2 separate regions of the Homo sapiens genome follow, and region 2 is linked to region 1. Evidence: promoter capture Hi-C in 16 types of primary human blood cells and fetal thymus (Javierre and others, 2016). All regions are on one chromosome and are shown on one strand. Each heading gives the region's core, a stretch centred on a gene start or on the middle of the fragment in contact. The rest is flanking DNA. Distances are from core to core; before and after follow the strand shown. Region 1 holds the start of ABRAXAS2 (abraxas 2, BRISC complex subunit). Region 2 holds the start of PSTK (phosphoseryl-tRNA kinase).

Evidence for each region. The method cuts DNA at HindIII sites, captures the fragments that hold promoters and counts their contacts. A CHiCAGO score of 5 or more calls a contact.
Region 2: a fragment that was not itself captured here is called in contact with the fragment with the promoter of ABRAXAS2 in region 1 in 2 of 17 cell types (total CD4 T cells and naive CD4 T cells); the score reaches 7.0 in total CD4 T cells.

Annotation. Positions count from the first base shown.
Region 1 is chr10:124,797,909-124,804,657 of GRCh38, reverse strand. It overlaps ABRAXAS2 (abraxas 2, BRISC complex subunit), which reads right to left and starts at 2,839. Exons shown (of 9, transcript NM_032182.4): 1 at 2,757-2,839. The coding sequence starts at 2,828. RefSeq lists a silencer at 2,564-2,643 and enhancers at 2,132-2,685, 2,744-3,013, 2,686-3,240. The HindIII fragment of the contact is 5,454 bases long and covers 1-3,395 here.
Region 2 is chr10:122,976,157-122,983,294 of GRCh38, reverse strand. PSTK (phosphoseryl-tRNA kinase) reads right to left here and starts at 2,894. Exons shown (of 6, transcript NM_001363531.2): 1 at 2,600-2,894; 2 at 271-562; 3 at 1-23. The coding sequence starts at 2,815. RefSeq lists an enhancer at 2,563-2,882. The HindIII fragment of the contact is 1,280 bases long and covers 767-2,046 here.

The DNA.
Region 1 (6,749 bases), core at 1,590-4,089:
GAGTGTCCATGACTACTAATTTGAGAAACACTGCCTAAATCAGCTTGTTTTACCCTAAGAAAATCTTTCAGTTATGAATTCTCACCATAAAAGCAGTTTTGTCTTGTCACAAGCAAAAGACAAACAAAACAAATACCCACTTTCAAAAAATCAAAGTGAAAAAATAATTTCATATTCACACAGAACTTTAGACTTAAGAACATAGCTAGATTCCTAGTATTCTACAGCACTGGGTTGCTGGATTTAGCAAAAGATACAAGACACACAATAAAATTTTAATTTCAGATAACAAATAATTATTTTGTAAGTTTTGGGATATACTTATACTATAAATAAATTGCTATTTATCTAAAATTCAAATTAACTGAGTGTGCTGTATTTCATCTGGTAACCCTACAACAGTCTTCCATTTGTGGAATAATGATATAACTCAACAGTGACATCAAGAAATTCTAGGTCAGATGCGGTGGGTCACGCCTGTAATCTCAACACTTTAAGAGGCCAAAAACGGAAGATCGCTTAAGGCCAGGAGTTTGAGATCAGCCTGGGCCACATAGCAAGACCTTGTCTGTAATTTTTTTTTTAAAAGGACATTCTAAAGCCAAGTACAAGTGGAATGTTTATACATCTACTGGTCTGGATTATCTGAGCCAATGTTCCTTTATAGTAGGAGTTGGCAAACTATGGCATGGGGACTAATTCCAGCCTAATGCTTATTAATGTACGGCCTGTAAGCTAAAAATGGTTTCTATGTTATTTTATTATTATTATTTTTGTAGCCCAGGCTGGAGTGCAATGGCGCGATCTCGACTCACCACAACCTTTGCCTCCCGGGTTCAAGCGATTTTCCTGCCTCAGCCTCCCTAGTAGCTGGGATTACAGGCATGTGCCACCACGCCTGGCTAATTTTATATTTTCAGTAGAGACGGGGTTTCTCCTTGTTGGTCAGGCTGGTCTTGAACTCCTGACCTCAGGTGATCTGCCCGCCTCAGCCTCCCAAAGTGCTGGGATTACAGGCATGAGCTACCGTGTCCAGCTAATAAGAGTCACTTGAATCTTTTATTGTCTATAGATGCTTTCTCCCAATAATAGCAGAGTTGAATAGTTGCTATAGAGACCATATGGCTTACAAAGCCTACAAAGTTTACTATCTGGCCCTGTACAGAAAAGTATGGTAGCCCCAGGTCTACAAATGAGTGGTTTTAAATTAATTTCTTGACTGGACAAAATAAGTATGTACTACAAAAGTAAATTGTTGGTTCTTCAACCTTAAAATTGAAATTATTTTCAAGGATTCCACATCTATAATTGTGGCAAAGTTAATATAAACAGGCATGGTCATATAAAACACAGTTGCAAACTATTGGCATTGGTGAAAATTTCTATGAAGTCAAGCACCACGCCTTGCAGAGTAGATATTAAGGGATATCTCTTGAATTAATTTTTTTCAACAGGTAGCTGCTTGTTCTTACAGTAATCTTGCCATATACATAAACTGTGATATTAGTAGGCATTCAAGAAATAAAGGACCCATTTTTAATAGTCCATGGACACTAGGGGTATCACAAACCCTTACATATGGAACTATATTACATTATTAAATAGCTGGTTGTAGTACCCTAGGCCATAGTCTTCAAAGCTGCTTCTGGAAAAACCCATGATGTATATATTCCTATTCCTATCATTAAGTTCTACCATCAACACTGAAGAGATGAAAGGTACAATAATTTAATTGCATTCAATTTACTAATGGAATCACCTCCCTGTGAAATCAGTTTTTATTAATGGAAGCTAAGATTGCTGACATCAAACCAAATGCAGTTCCTCCTTCTGCAGTGTACCATTTTGCTTTGTAATGACAACCAAAAACCCCACACATAGGTTTAATGAGTTTGAATCATTCACTATTAACATCACTTAAAATAATCCCCCAATTTGGTGGCCAAATTATATACCTCCTTTAAGAGAGAAGTGATCTAGTTTCACAAAGCATTTCCAATCAGAGGCCAATGACGTTAAAAGACAATTTGTAAAATAAAGACACTGAAACAGACAGGATCTGCTCCTCCTGTGGGCTCACAGCCTATGCATTTCCCATCACTCAGTAGTGGGCCTGTCACTTCCCTATTTCACTGTGACTAGTGAAAGAACTAGTCACAAAGAACTAAACACGCAACTTCAAGGAAATACAAAATAGACCCTGCACCGAACGCTCCTGTATACATTCTCCATTTTGCATCAGGGCGAAGAAAACACACAACCGTGTCTAACAAGTATCAGTAGTGACAGCCACGGTTTCACTCGCAGCACCCCCACGACAACCTGCGAGACCGGCGGGCGGGGCTGAGTACCTCGCCTACTGGACTAAACGCCCGGCCTTTAGATTCCTTCCCGACCCCGTGCGCCCCTCTTAAGTCTAGAAGCCTGACTTTCAGGGAGGGGCAGGCGCTCGGTTTCCACCGAGCGACTCCTGACACTGCAGGAGGCCAGGTGGGACAGTTTTGCTGCACGGGAGACGGCTGTGCCGGGACGGCCGAGCGGCTGAGAGCGCGAAGCCAGGGGGCCTGTCCCAGGGGCGAAGGAGCCCCCAGAGGCAAGAGCTCACCGGGGGCGGGAGCCGCCCGGGTCACCAGCTCCTCCGGCCGGCCCTGGTGCCCAGGGGGCGAGCCGCATGAGGTCCCGGCTTGGCCGCGAGCGCCGGCCTGAGACAGAGGCTGAAAGCCCCCAGCGGGCGCGGCAGGGGGCCCGGCACCTACGTGGTCCGCGTTGCTGTTGGCGCTGTGGAAACACACAGCACTGAAGGTGTAGCCCGAAATGGACGCCGCCATGATGGAAATCTCCAGCTACCCCATCATGCCCCGCGGAGGGCACACGGCCTTCCGGACGGCCCGACCCCTTGGCATCATGGGAAGTGGAGTCTGCGGCGGGCAGCGGCCGAGGGCCCTGAGCGCTCACAGTCTTGAAGGCTGAGGAACGCCGGTTTTTGCGATCGGAAGGACCCCGGCACCGTATCCTCCGCAGGGGTGTCGCTCCCGACACGCCTCAGACAGCGGTTGATAGTTCCGCAAACAGTTCTTTCCCTTTGCAAGTGAAACCTTAGTATTAAAAGACAACATTCTAGCCGGGCGCAGTGGCTCACGCCTGTAATCCCAGCACTTTGGGAGGCCGAGGCGGGCGGATCACCTGAGGTCAGGAGTTCGAGACCAGCCTGACCAACATGGAGAAACCCTGTCTATATTGAAAATACAAAAACTAGCCGGGCGTGGTGGCACATGCCTGTAATCTCAGCTACTCGGGAGGCTGAGGGAGGGGAATGGCTTGAACCCGGGAGGCGGAGGTTGCGGTGAGTCGAGATCGTGCCATTGCACTCCAGCCTGGGCAGCAAGAGCGAAGCTTCGTCTCAAAAAAAAAAAAAAAAAAAAAAAAAAAAGGCCAACATTTAGGCTGAGCGTGGTGGCTCGCGCCTGTAATCCCAGCACTTTGGGAGGCCGAGGTGGGCGGATCACGAGGTCAGGAGTTTGAGACCATCCTGGCTTACACGGTGAAACCCCGTCTCTACTAAAAATACAAAAAATTAGCCGGACGTGGTGGCGGGCTCCTGTAGTCCCAGCTACTCAGGAGGCTGAGGCAGGAGAATGGCGTGAACCTGGAAGGCGGAGCTTGCAGTGAGCCGAGATCGCGCCACTGCACTCCAGCCTGGGTGACAGACCAAGACTCCGTCTCAAAAACAAAACAAAACAAAAAGCCAACATTTGAGGCCGGGCGCGGTGGCTCATGCCTGTAATCCCAGCACTTTGGGAGGGGGGGGCGTGTGTGGGGAGTGTTAACCTGAGGTCAGGAGTGTTATGCGCGTTTGTGTGAAGAGACCACCAAACAGGCTTTGTGTGAGCAACAAGGCTGTTTATTTCAACTGGGTGCAGGCGGGCTGAGTCCGAAAAGAGAGTCAGCAAGGGAGATAGGGGTGGGGCCGATTTATAGGATTTGGGTAGGTAGTGGAAAATTACAGTCAAAGGGGGTTGTTCTCTGGTGGGAAGGGGCGGGGGTTACAAGGTGCTCAGTCGGGGAGCTTCTAAGCCAGGAGAAGGAATTTCACAAGGTAATGTCATCAGTTAAGGCAGGAACCGGTCATTTTCACTTCTTTTGTGATTCTTCAGTTACTTCAGGCCATCTGGATGTATACGTGCAGGCCACAGGGGATATGATGGCTTAGCTTGGGCTCAGAGGCCTGACAAGGAGTTCAAGACCAGCCTGGCCAACATGGTGAGACCCTGCCCACTCCCCTCTGCCCATCTCTATTGAAAATACAAAAACTAGCCGGGCATTCTGGTGCATGCCTGTAATCTCAGCTACTCAGGAGGCTGAGGCATGAGAATCGCTTGAACCCGGGAGACAGAGATTGCAGTGAGCCGAGATTGTGCCACTGCGCTCTGGCTCTGTCTCAAAGAAAAAAAAAAGGAAAAGAAAAAAGGCAACATTTACAAGCTCAAGGATGAAAGGATGGAGGAAATTCAGGCAAATAAACAGTTTGGTATAGTAGTGACATAATTTGATAACAGATAACACAATCACTTTGGCTGCAGAGTTGAGACTGTAGCGTCTTGGGGTGGGAGGGAAGTGAAACGGTGGTTCAAGTCACCATCATCTCTCTCTCTCAGAATTTTGTATCCTCTTACTCAGGGAGTCCGAACTGGTGGCAGTTTTGCCTCCCAAAATGGCATGTGGCAATGTTTGGAAACATTATCAGATATCATAATTCGGTGTCAGGTGCCACTGGCATCTGGTGGGTGGGTAGAGGCCAGAGAAGTGGCTAAACGTCTTACAGTGCACAACAACAGGCCCACAATGAAGAATTATCATCAGTGGTGACAAGGCTGAGAAACCCAGTGTTCCTGCTTCAGCTTTTAATCCCCTCCTTGCCAAATCTATGCTCAACATAGCAAGATGGTCAACATTTAAATGTAAGAACTAAACCATGTTGCTTCTTGGCCAAACACCAAATCTTGCCAAGACCTGGCCCCTATTACTTGTCTGACTTTATTACCTGCTACTGCCCCCTTTATTTACCGAGCTTCAGCTACATTAGTCTTCTTTCTGCTTCCTGGACGTCCCTAGCTCATTCCACTTTAGGGCCTTTGTGCTTGCTGTTTTCTTTGCTTGGGATGCTCTTCTCCCAGGCAGCTGCATGGTTTACTGTTTCTGCCCTAGATGATTTGATGTGCCACCGAGACCTCCTGTCTGCCTTGCAGGATTGATTGATTGCTGCAGGTCAGCTCTCTCCTATAAGTATACCTAGTTGAAGAGAGCTTCATTGCCTAAGGCCAGTCCTCCCTTTGTGGGCATCCAGCATTCAATGCCTGGTCGGGGTAGATGAAAAAAGGGAGGGCCAGGAGGGATTTGCTGAAATTCTGTTGTAGTGGTACCTCAGTCCAACTACTTCATTCAGCCAATCCTGCTTCTTTTTCTTCTCCAACAGATGATGATTCTCAGAGTACTCCCTAATCAACTTCCTCCCTGTTCATCTCAGTGTCACACTTTGCTCCCTGGGAACCAAACCTATGACAACCTCTTTTAGGTTTTCACTCAGTGCTGCCACCCCCTCAGAGAGTCCTTCCCTGGTACCCTATCAAGGATTGCAACCTTCACCCCATGTTCTCAATAGTACTTCCCTGTTTACTTTTCCCTTTACCACTTATCATCTAGCAGCAACGCTGTGTTATTCATCTTTCCTGTCCATTGTCTTTCCCCCTCTTCGAGCATGTTCTGAACTTCACGAAGACAGGGATTCTTCTTTTTTTTAATTTTTGTTTTTAGATATAGGGTCTTGCTCTGTCACCCAATAGCTCACTGCACGTCAAACTCCTAGACTCCAGTGATTGTCCTGCCTCAGCCTCCTGAGTAGTTGGGATTACAAACAAGAGACTCCACACCTAGCAAAGACAGGGATTCCTGCTTATTTACTGTTGCATCTCCATCATCTGGAATAATGGCTGGCATGTAAATGTTGCCAGATACAAGACTGTTGAATGAACACTGCATGAAAAAGTGGGAGGGTTTTAGGGAAGATAGCTGTGTTTGATCAGCAGGGTGCTGGAGGGGGATGGAAACAGAAGCAGCTGATAAAAAGCGTAGGCTTGCTAATAAGGAGGTGCCTAGGTTTGCTCACTGAAGAAACCATTTGGGATGTAGGAGATGAGAGAGGAAAGAGGCAGATGAACTGGGAAAATTTAGGGGGTGAAGGAGAAAGAGGATGAGAAGAGGAGATGAGTGGCTACAGTGAGATTCTGGACTTTGGGGACAGAGAGATGAGAATAAAGAATTTTTAGGCTCTGACCCGGCTCGGTGGCTAACACCTGTAATCCCAGCAATTTGAGAGGTCAAGGCAGGTGGATCGCTTGAGCCCAGGAGTTCAAGACCAGCCTGGGCAACATAGTGAGACCCCCATCTCTACAGAAAAAATTAAAAAATTAGCTGGACATGGTGTTGGGCACCTGTAACTCCAGCTACTTGGGAGGCTGAGTTAGGAGGATCGCTTGAGCCCAGGAAGTCGAGGCTGCAGTGAGTTAAGTGATCATGCCACTGGGCTGGGTGCAGTGGCTCATGCCTGTAATCCCAGCACTTTGGGAGGCAGAGGCGGGCAGATCATTTGAGGTCAGGAGTTCAAGACGAGCCTGCCAACATGGTGAAATCCTGTCTCTACTAAAAAGACAAAAAAAATGAGCCAGATGTGGTGGCATGTGGCTGAAATCCCA
Region 2 (7,138 bases), core at 157-2,656, 1.8 Mb after region 1:
GAGCTGGCAAAAGCCCAACGAATCTGAAAACAGTTTAAAATGATAGAATTACTGGTATACTCTTTTTCCAAAATATGAAATAAACATATATTAGACAAATTATGACAATTATAGTAGGAAAAACTCCGTTTGCAATACTGAACATCTAGCTTTTAAAATTAAGTAAATCTACATAACCTCCTAATCAAGTTAAATTCTCATTGAAGACAATAGTGTTTTTGATACGTGAATAAGTATCTCCATGTGTAAGAAAAAAAAAGTTTTAATTACATTTCCGAGCCAGCTGGTAGACTTCATATCTCATACTCTGATAATAAAAATTGTCATCCAAAACCAAAAACAAAGGTCTAGAAACAGCAGTTTTTGTTAAGAGGTAGCAAGACTGGGCCTCAAATGCTGCAGAAAATATCAGATCTTGATCCTTTAAGCAGGTTATAAAATCTTCCCACATGGCTTCAGTCCTGTTGGGTGGGACAGACATCTGACACCCATTAATGACAGCCATCAAGAAGTATTCCAGGTACTTCAACAGTTCCTGTCGAAGCAATTTCCATTGGGATGGCTACAAGAGACCAAAGAATTGCAATTCATATTAGGCCACTAGGGTGGTCAGTCATCTGGCCTCACTGCCACCCTGCCCCATATGAAAATTTCAGCTCACAATACGGAACCATCTGTAGTTCTCTAACACACCTGGTTTCACATGACTCCATATATACCATTCCTTCTGCCTGGAAAACTAATGTTACTAGTGCTGTGTAAAGCTTTCTCAGACTCAACCATGCAGAAGGCAGCTCAGCCTCTCCCTTGCCCATCATGAAACCCCATTCTATACATATATCTCCACTCTAGCAGTGCTTACACAGTTTAAGCATTTGTTTACACTTCTCTCTCTGCTAGATCACTGTCCATTGCATACTCAGCCTCCAGCAGAGGGTCGGTGCTCCAGAAATGTATATTAAATGGATGACTGACTGAATAAGTGAATAAATGAAAGAACTTATTTATCATCCAAGAGAAAGGTGGAGTCAAAATAGTCTGGCTAAGATATAATAATGCAGGTTTTCCCCTGAAATGGGAAAGGTAGTAGACAGCAAAAAGATCAGGTGAAAAGTCTCTGGGTCAAGAAGAAAAGACCTCAGGCTAACAAATGAGTTGATATGGGATGGGGAAAGATGGAGGAAACAAACTGAGGGGAATAAACAGCTTGAGAATACAAGTAATCTTGTGCTGGTCAAGGGCTGTGGAGAATCCTGACATAGTTAAGAAATCTAAGCTGGAGGGAAAACACGAGGACAGGGGAGTGAGAACTCTCACTTGCCTGCCCATGCCTTACCACCACTGAGATTACACTACATACAACAAACACATCAGCTAAACCCACTAAATTGGAAACACATATCACTTCCTAAGTGAGCAGATGAGTCCCACAGTCTTTGTCCATAGGAAAAGCGTGGAAAAAACAACATAATACAAGTGAAGGGAAAGCCAGCAAATACAACAATCCCTATCGACAACTTTCAGCTTTCTCCGAAGTGTTGAAAATACTATCATCCAGGTCAATCCTGCGCTATCCTGACACTGCACTTACTTCACAATTAACCAAGAATGAGAAAGTAGATACACCTTGCTGGAGAGCCCATGCACCAAATGTACTGTATTTTTGTATATATACTTAGAAAGTAGAGTCACATAACATTTGCATTTGATTTCTGTAAATTCATCTACATTAGGCATTAAACAACAAAAATAATAATGTTAACATTTCAGAATATTTCAAAGAGTATTTACTCAAGAGTGAGCATGAGAAACACGAATGTAATCTACTCTTCCCCCAGTGGTCTCAGTTTCCACATGCTTCTCCAAGAGGATGTATCTCACTGTGCTGAGTGTGAGATGAGGAGGGCTTAAAGAGATGTATTTGGAACATACAAGTTTTTCCGTAAATACAAACCCATTACTTCCTCTGGTGGTCAACTAAGAAACAGCCATCCTTCCCAAAGCTGGCAGAGGCAGATTTACTTTGAGATGAACAAAGATTAAGCTTCATAGGTCTGATAATGCATTTGTACAGCCTCTTTCTATCGTTCTGAGGGACCCCAGAAATTTTGTTACTTATAGTTTTTATTCCTTTTCTTAAAGAGGATTCCTCAAATTACAAAACCTGAATCCACCCGTAGCTAGACGTTCAAGTTTTAGAACTTCTTTCCCTCTCCTAAGGAGAAACTTCCTAAGGGATTTTCGACAGTGCATTTGACTATAGGGGCTTTCCACCTTGCACGCTGACTTGAGAACCTGACCCTGTCTGAAGACTCAACTGTATAGAATATACAACATATACATGCATCAAATATACAGATAAGCATCTAAAATGCATCGTTCTAACAGTTGGCTTTGTAACCACTTTCTACAGCCAACGCATTCACCCTCTGCAGTAACTATGTTAACCCAGCTCCACTTTTCTCGAACTTCACCTCCCACACCAAGCAATGGGCGCTCATGGCAAATCACCCAGGACCGCGTGGACGCGAGTGTCCCCGCCCCGCCCCGCCCCGCCCCGCCCCGCCCCGCGGCCCAGGCCCCGCCCCTCCGTGCTGACCGCCGGTCGCGCTCTTGCCCCGGCGAGAAACGCGTCGGGCATGACGTCATCATACGCGACAACACCGATGGCCCAACCCTGCTCCTGCTGCAGCCGGTGGGCGAGGGCGCGCGCGAAAGTCGATTTTCCTGCCGCGGGGAGGCCACAGAGGACGCAGAGGCCTCGTTTCCGCGGCCCGTCGCTGCCGGTTCCTCTGATGTTCTCGGCGGTCTTCATGCTGCCCGGGGAGACCGGAGGAGTCTGGGAGCGTCGTCTCCGCTCTACCGTCTGCCCTGCGCGCACGCGCAGCGTCTCCGCCGCCTACCGGCGCAGTGGAGGAACTGGCCTAGCTGGGTTTCCGTGCGGCCCCAGAGGCACCTGCTCCACCGGTGCCCTGCTTGCTCCCAGGGACCAGAGGCTGGAGAGACCGCGGCGCTGCGTTCCTAGCTCCTGGACATTCCCAAGGGGTCCCAGAGTTAGGATTGATCTTCAAATAGAATCACCCTCCCTGCCGAAAGTTGCCAGCCAGTAGGATTGGCGCCTCAGTTTTGTTAGGATGAGGTCTTTCTGCTTAGGAAAATCCCAAAAGAGACGTTGAGCCTTTCCCTCCAGCAATCTTTCGAAAATAAGTTACTGGAAATCAAAGAATAGAAGGCGAGGCTGACAGTCCGACCACCGCGCTCCTTTGCGGTTCCCAGATGTGAAGAGTGCAAGGGCAAAGTAAACATTCGTTATTGTGCCCTCACAGCACCAGTGGGCAGCAAGCGTGAAGAAATATTGTCAGGAAAGGCACATCCACAGACCTCAATTCCAGTGCATGCAGACAGAGAACAATAGGTGTTTGTGTTAAAAAGTAATACTAAGCTATGGAGAGGTACAAAACAAGTTTTTGTTTTTTGTTTGTTTTTAAGACGGAGTCTCGCTCTGTCGCCCAGGCTGGAGTGCAGTGGCGCAATCTCGGCTCACTGCAACCTCTGCAACCTCCGCCTCCTGGGTTCACGCCATTCTCCTGCCTCAGCCTCCGAGTAGCTGGGAATACAGGCGCTTGCCACCAGGCCCAGCTAACTTTTTGTATTTTTAGTGGAGACGGGGTTTCACCATGTTAGCCAGGATGGTCTCGATTTCCTGACCTTGTGATCCGCCCGCCTCGGCCTCCCAAAGATTACAGGCGCAAGCCACCGCGGCTGGCCAAGTTTTTTTTGTCTGGGGGTGTGTTGTAGAAAAATTGAATTCAGATTACAGTTTTTTGTTTTTTGAGACAGCGTCTCACTCTCTCGCCCGGACTGGAGTGCAGTGGTCCGATCTCGGCTCACCGCAACCTCCGCCTCTCAGGCTCGAGGGATTCTCCTGCCTCAGCCTCCCGAGTAGCTGGGATTACAGGCGAACACCACTACTGCCCAATTAATTTTTGTATTTTCAGTAAGAACGGGGTTTCCTCATGTTGGACAGGCTGGTCTTGAACTGACCGCAAATGATCCACCCGCCTCGGCTTCCCAAAGTGCTGGTATTACAGGCGTGAGCCACCGCGTCGGGCCTAGATTCCAGATTCTTTTATCCTTATATTTTAGGGGATAATTCCTTCTTACCTGTAAAGGGTATGTTCAAAATGTGAAGACGTAAGGACAAAATCAGTGTATACTGTGTCAAAATATGACGAGTAACCTGCTAAAGCTGATATAATTTGTATGAAGCACTTACAAATAATCTCATTTTCCTTTGGACTGAAAGTGAAGAGCAATGAGTTAAACTCTTTATTTCATGACATTTTATCATTATTGGTCCAGTATAAGGTCCCTCTCCTTAATTTGCCCCTCCCCCACTTTTTTAAGAGACAGGGTTTTGCTTTGTCACCCAAGCTGGAGTGGAACCATAGCTCATTGTAACCTCGAATTTCTAGGCTCAAGCAATCCTCCTATCTCAGCCTCCTGAGTAGCTGGGACTATAGGCATGTGCCATTGAGCCTGGCTCCACTGTCTTTTATCTCCCATCCTCCACATCCACACCCATTTAACCCCTGCAGGCAACCGGTTTTTTTTTTCTTTTTATCATAGTTATTTTTGTTTTGGTTATGTATTTTTTTTAAATAGGCTTTATTTTTTAAAGCAGTTTTAGGTTCACAGCTAAACTGAGCAGAAAGTAGAGTTCTCATATACTCCTTCCCCTCCTCATTCATAACCTCCCCCACTATCAACATCCTTCACCAGAGTGATACATTTGTTACAATCAATAATCAATGAACCTACATTGACACATCATTATCACCTAAAGGCCATAGTTTACTATTGGTGTAAAATAGTTTACTATTGGTATTGGGGTTTACTCTTGGTGTACATTCTGTAGGTTTTGGCTATGTATAATGACACATATCCATCAGTACAGAATAGTTTCACAGCCCAAACATCCTCAGAGCACAGAGCACAAACATCCTCTGTGCTCCATCTGTTTATCCTCCCTCTCCTCTAACCCCTGACACCATTGATTTTTGTGTGTGTGTCTCTGTAGTTTTGCCTTGTCCGGAATAACATACAATTATATAATTGTAATCACACAATTTTAATTTGCTTCTTTTACTTAGTAATATGCATTTAAGGCTCCTCTATGTCTTTTTATGGCTTGACAGTGCATTTCTTTTTAGCCATGAATAATATTCCAATGTCTAGAGGTACCACAGTTTAGTTTTCCACTCACCTACTGAAGGACATCTTGGTTGCTTCCAAGATTTGGCAATTATGAATAAAGCTGCTATAAACATCCATGTGCAGGTTTTTGTGTGGACGTAAATTTTCAACTCATTTGGGTAAATATCATACCAAGAAGCGTGACTGCTATATCATACAGTAAGAGTGTTTAGTTTTGTAAGAAACTGCCAAACTGTCTTCCAAAGTGGCTGTACCATTTTGCATTCCAGTCAGCAATGAATGAGACTTCTTACTGCTCCACATCCTCCCTCATATTTGGTGTTGTCAATGTTTTGGATTTTCGTCATTCTAGTAAGTGTGTAGTGGTATCTCACTGTTCTTTTAGTTTGCATTTCCTTACTGACATATGATGTTAAACATCTTTTTTCTTTTTTTTTTTTTTTTGTGAGACAGAATCTTGCTCTGTCACTCAGGCTGGAGGCAGATCATGGTTCACTACAGCCTCAACCTCCCAGGCTCAAAGCAATCCTGCTGCTTCAGCCTCGTGAGCAGCTGGGACTACAGGCATGCACCACCATGCCTGGCTAATTTTTATTTTTATTTTTGTAGAGATGAGGTCTCCCTATGTTGCCCAGGCTGGTCTCAAACTGCTGGGCTCAAACAAACCTCTGCACCACCATGCCTGGCTAATTTTCATTTTTGTAGAGATGAGGTCTCCCTATGTTGCCCAGGCTGGTCTCAAACTCCTGGGCTCAAACCTCATGCCTCAGCCTTCCAAAGTGCTAGGATTACAGGCGTGAGCCACTATGCACAGCCAAACATCTTTTCATATGCTTATTTGCCATCTGTACATCTTCTTTGGTGAGGTGCCTGTTCAGATCTTTTTGCCTATTTTATTTACCATTTTTGAGATGGGGTCTCACTACATTGCCCATGCTGGTCCCAAACTCCTGGGCTTGAGCAGTCCCCCACCTGAGTAGCTGGGGTTACAGGCATGCACCATTATGCCTAGCTTCTTTTTGCCCATATTTAAATTGGGTTGTTTTCTTGTTGTTCAGTTTTAAGCGTTGTTTGTATATATTGGACAACAGTCCTTTTTACAAGATCCCTTTGGCAAACATTTTCTCCCAGTCTGTGGTTTATCTTTTCATTCTTGTCACAGTGTCTTTTGGAGAGAAGTTTTTAATTTTAATGAAGCCCAGTTTACCAATGACTTCTTTCATGCATCATACCTTTGGTGTTTTATCAAAAATATCGTCACCAAGCCCAGTCTTCTAGATTCTCTGTTATCCTTTAGTCTTATAGTTTTGGGATTTACATTTTGTTCTATGATCCATTTTGAGTTAATTCTTGTGAAGGAGGTAAAGTCTGTGTGTAGATATCTAGTTTCAGCACCAGTTGTTGAAAAGACTATTTTTTTGTCCATAGCATTGCCTTTGCTCCTTTGTCAAAGATCAGTTGACTGTATTTATGTGGGCTCTCTATTCTGTTCATTGATCTATTTGTCTATTCTTTTGCCAATATGACACTATCTTTATTATTATAGCTTTATAGTAAGTCTTGCAGTTGGCTACTGTCAGTCTTCTAGTTTTGCTCCTTCTTTAATATTGTGCTGGCTAGCCTAGATCCTTTGCCTTGCCACATAAACTTTAGAATCACTTTGTTGATATCCACAAAACAGCTTGCTGGGGTTGAGACTGTGTTGAATCTATAGATCAAGTTGGGAAGAAATGACATCTTGACAATATTATTTCTATTCATGAACACGAAATATTTTAGTTTATTTCTTTCAACAGAGTTTTGTAGTTATCATCATGTAGATTTCATGCATATTTTAAAAATTTTATACCCAATAAAAAGAAGCTTTAAATTTAAGTATTTCATTTTGGGGGGTGTTCATGTAATGGTATTGTGTTTCTAA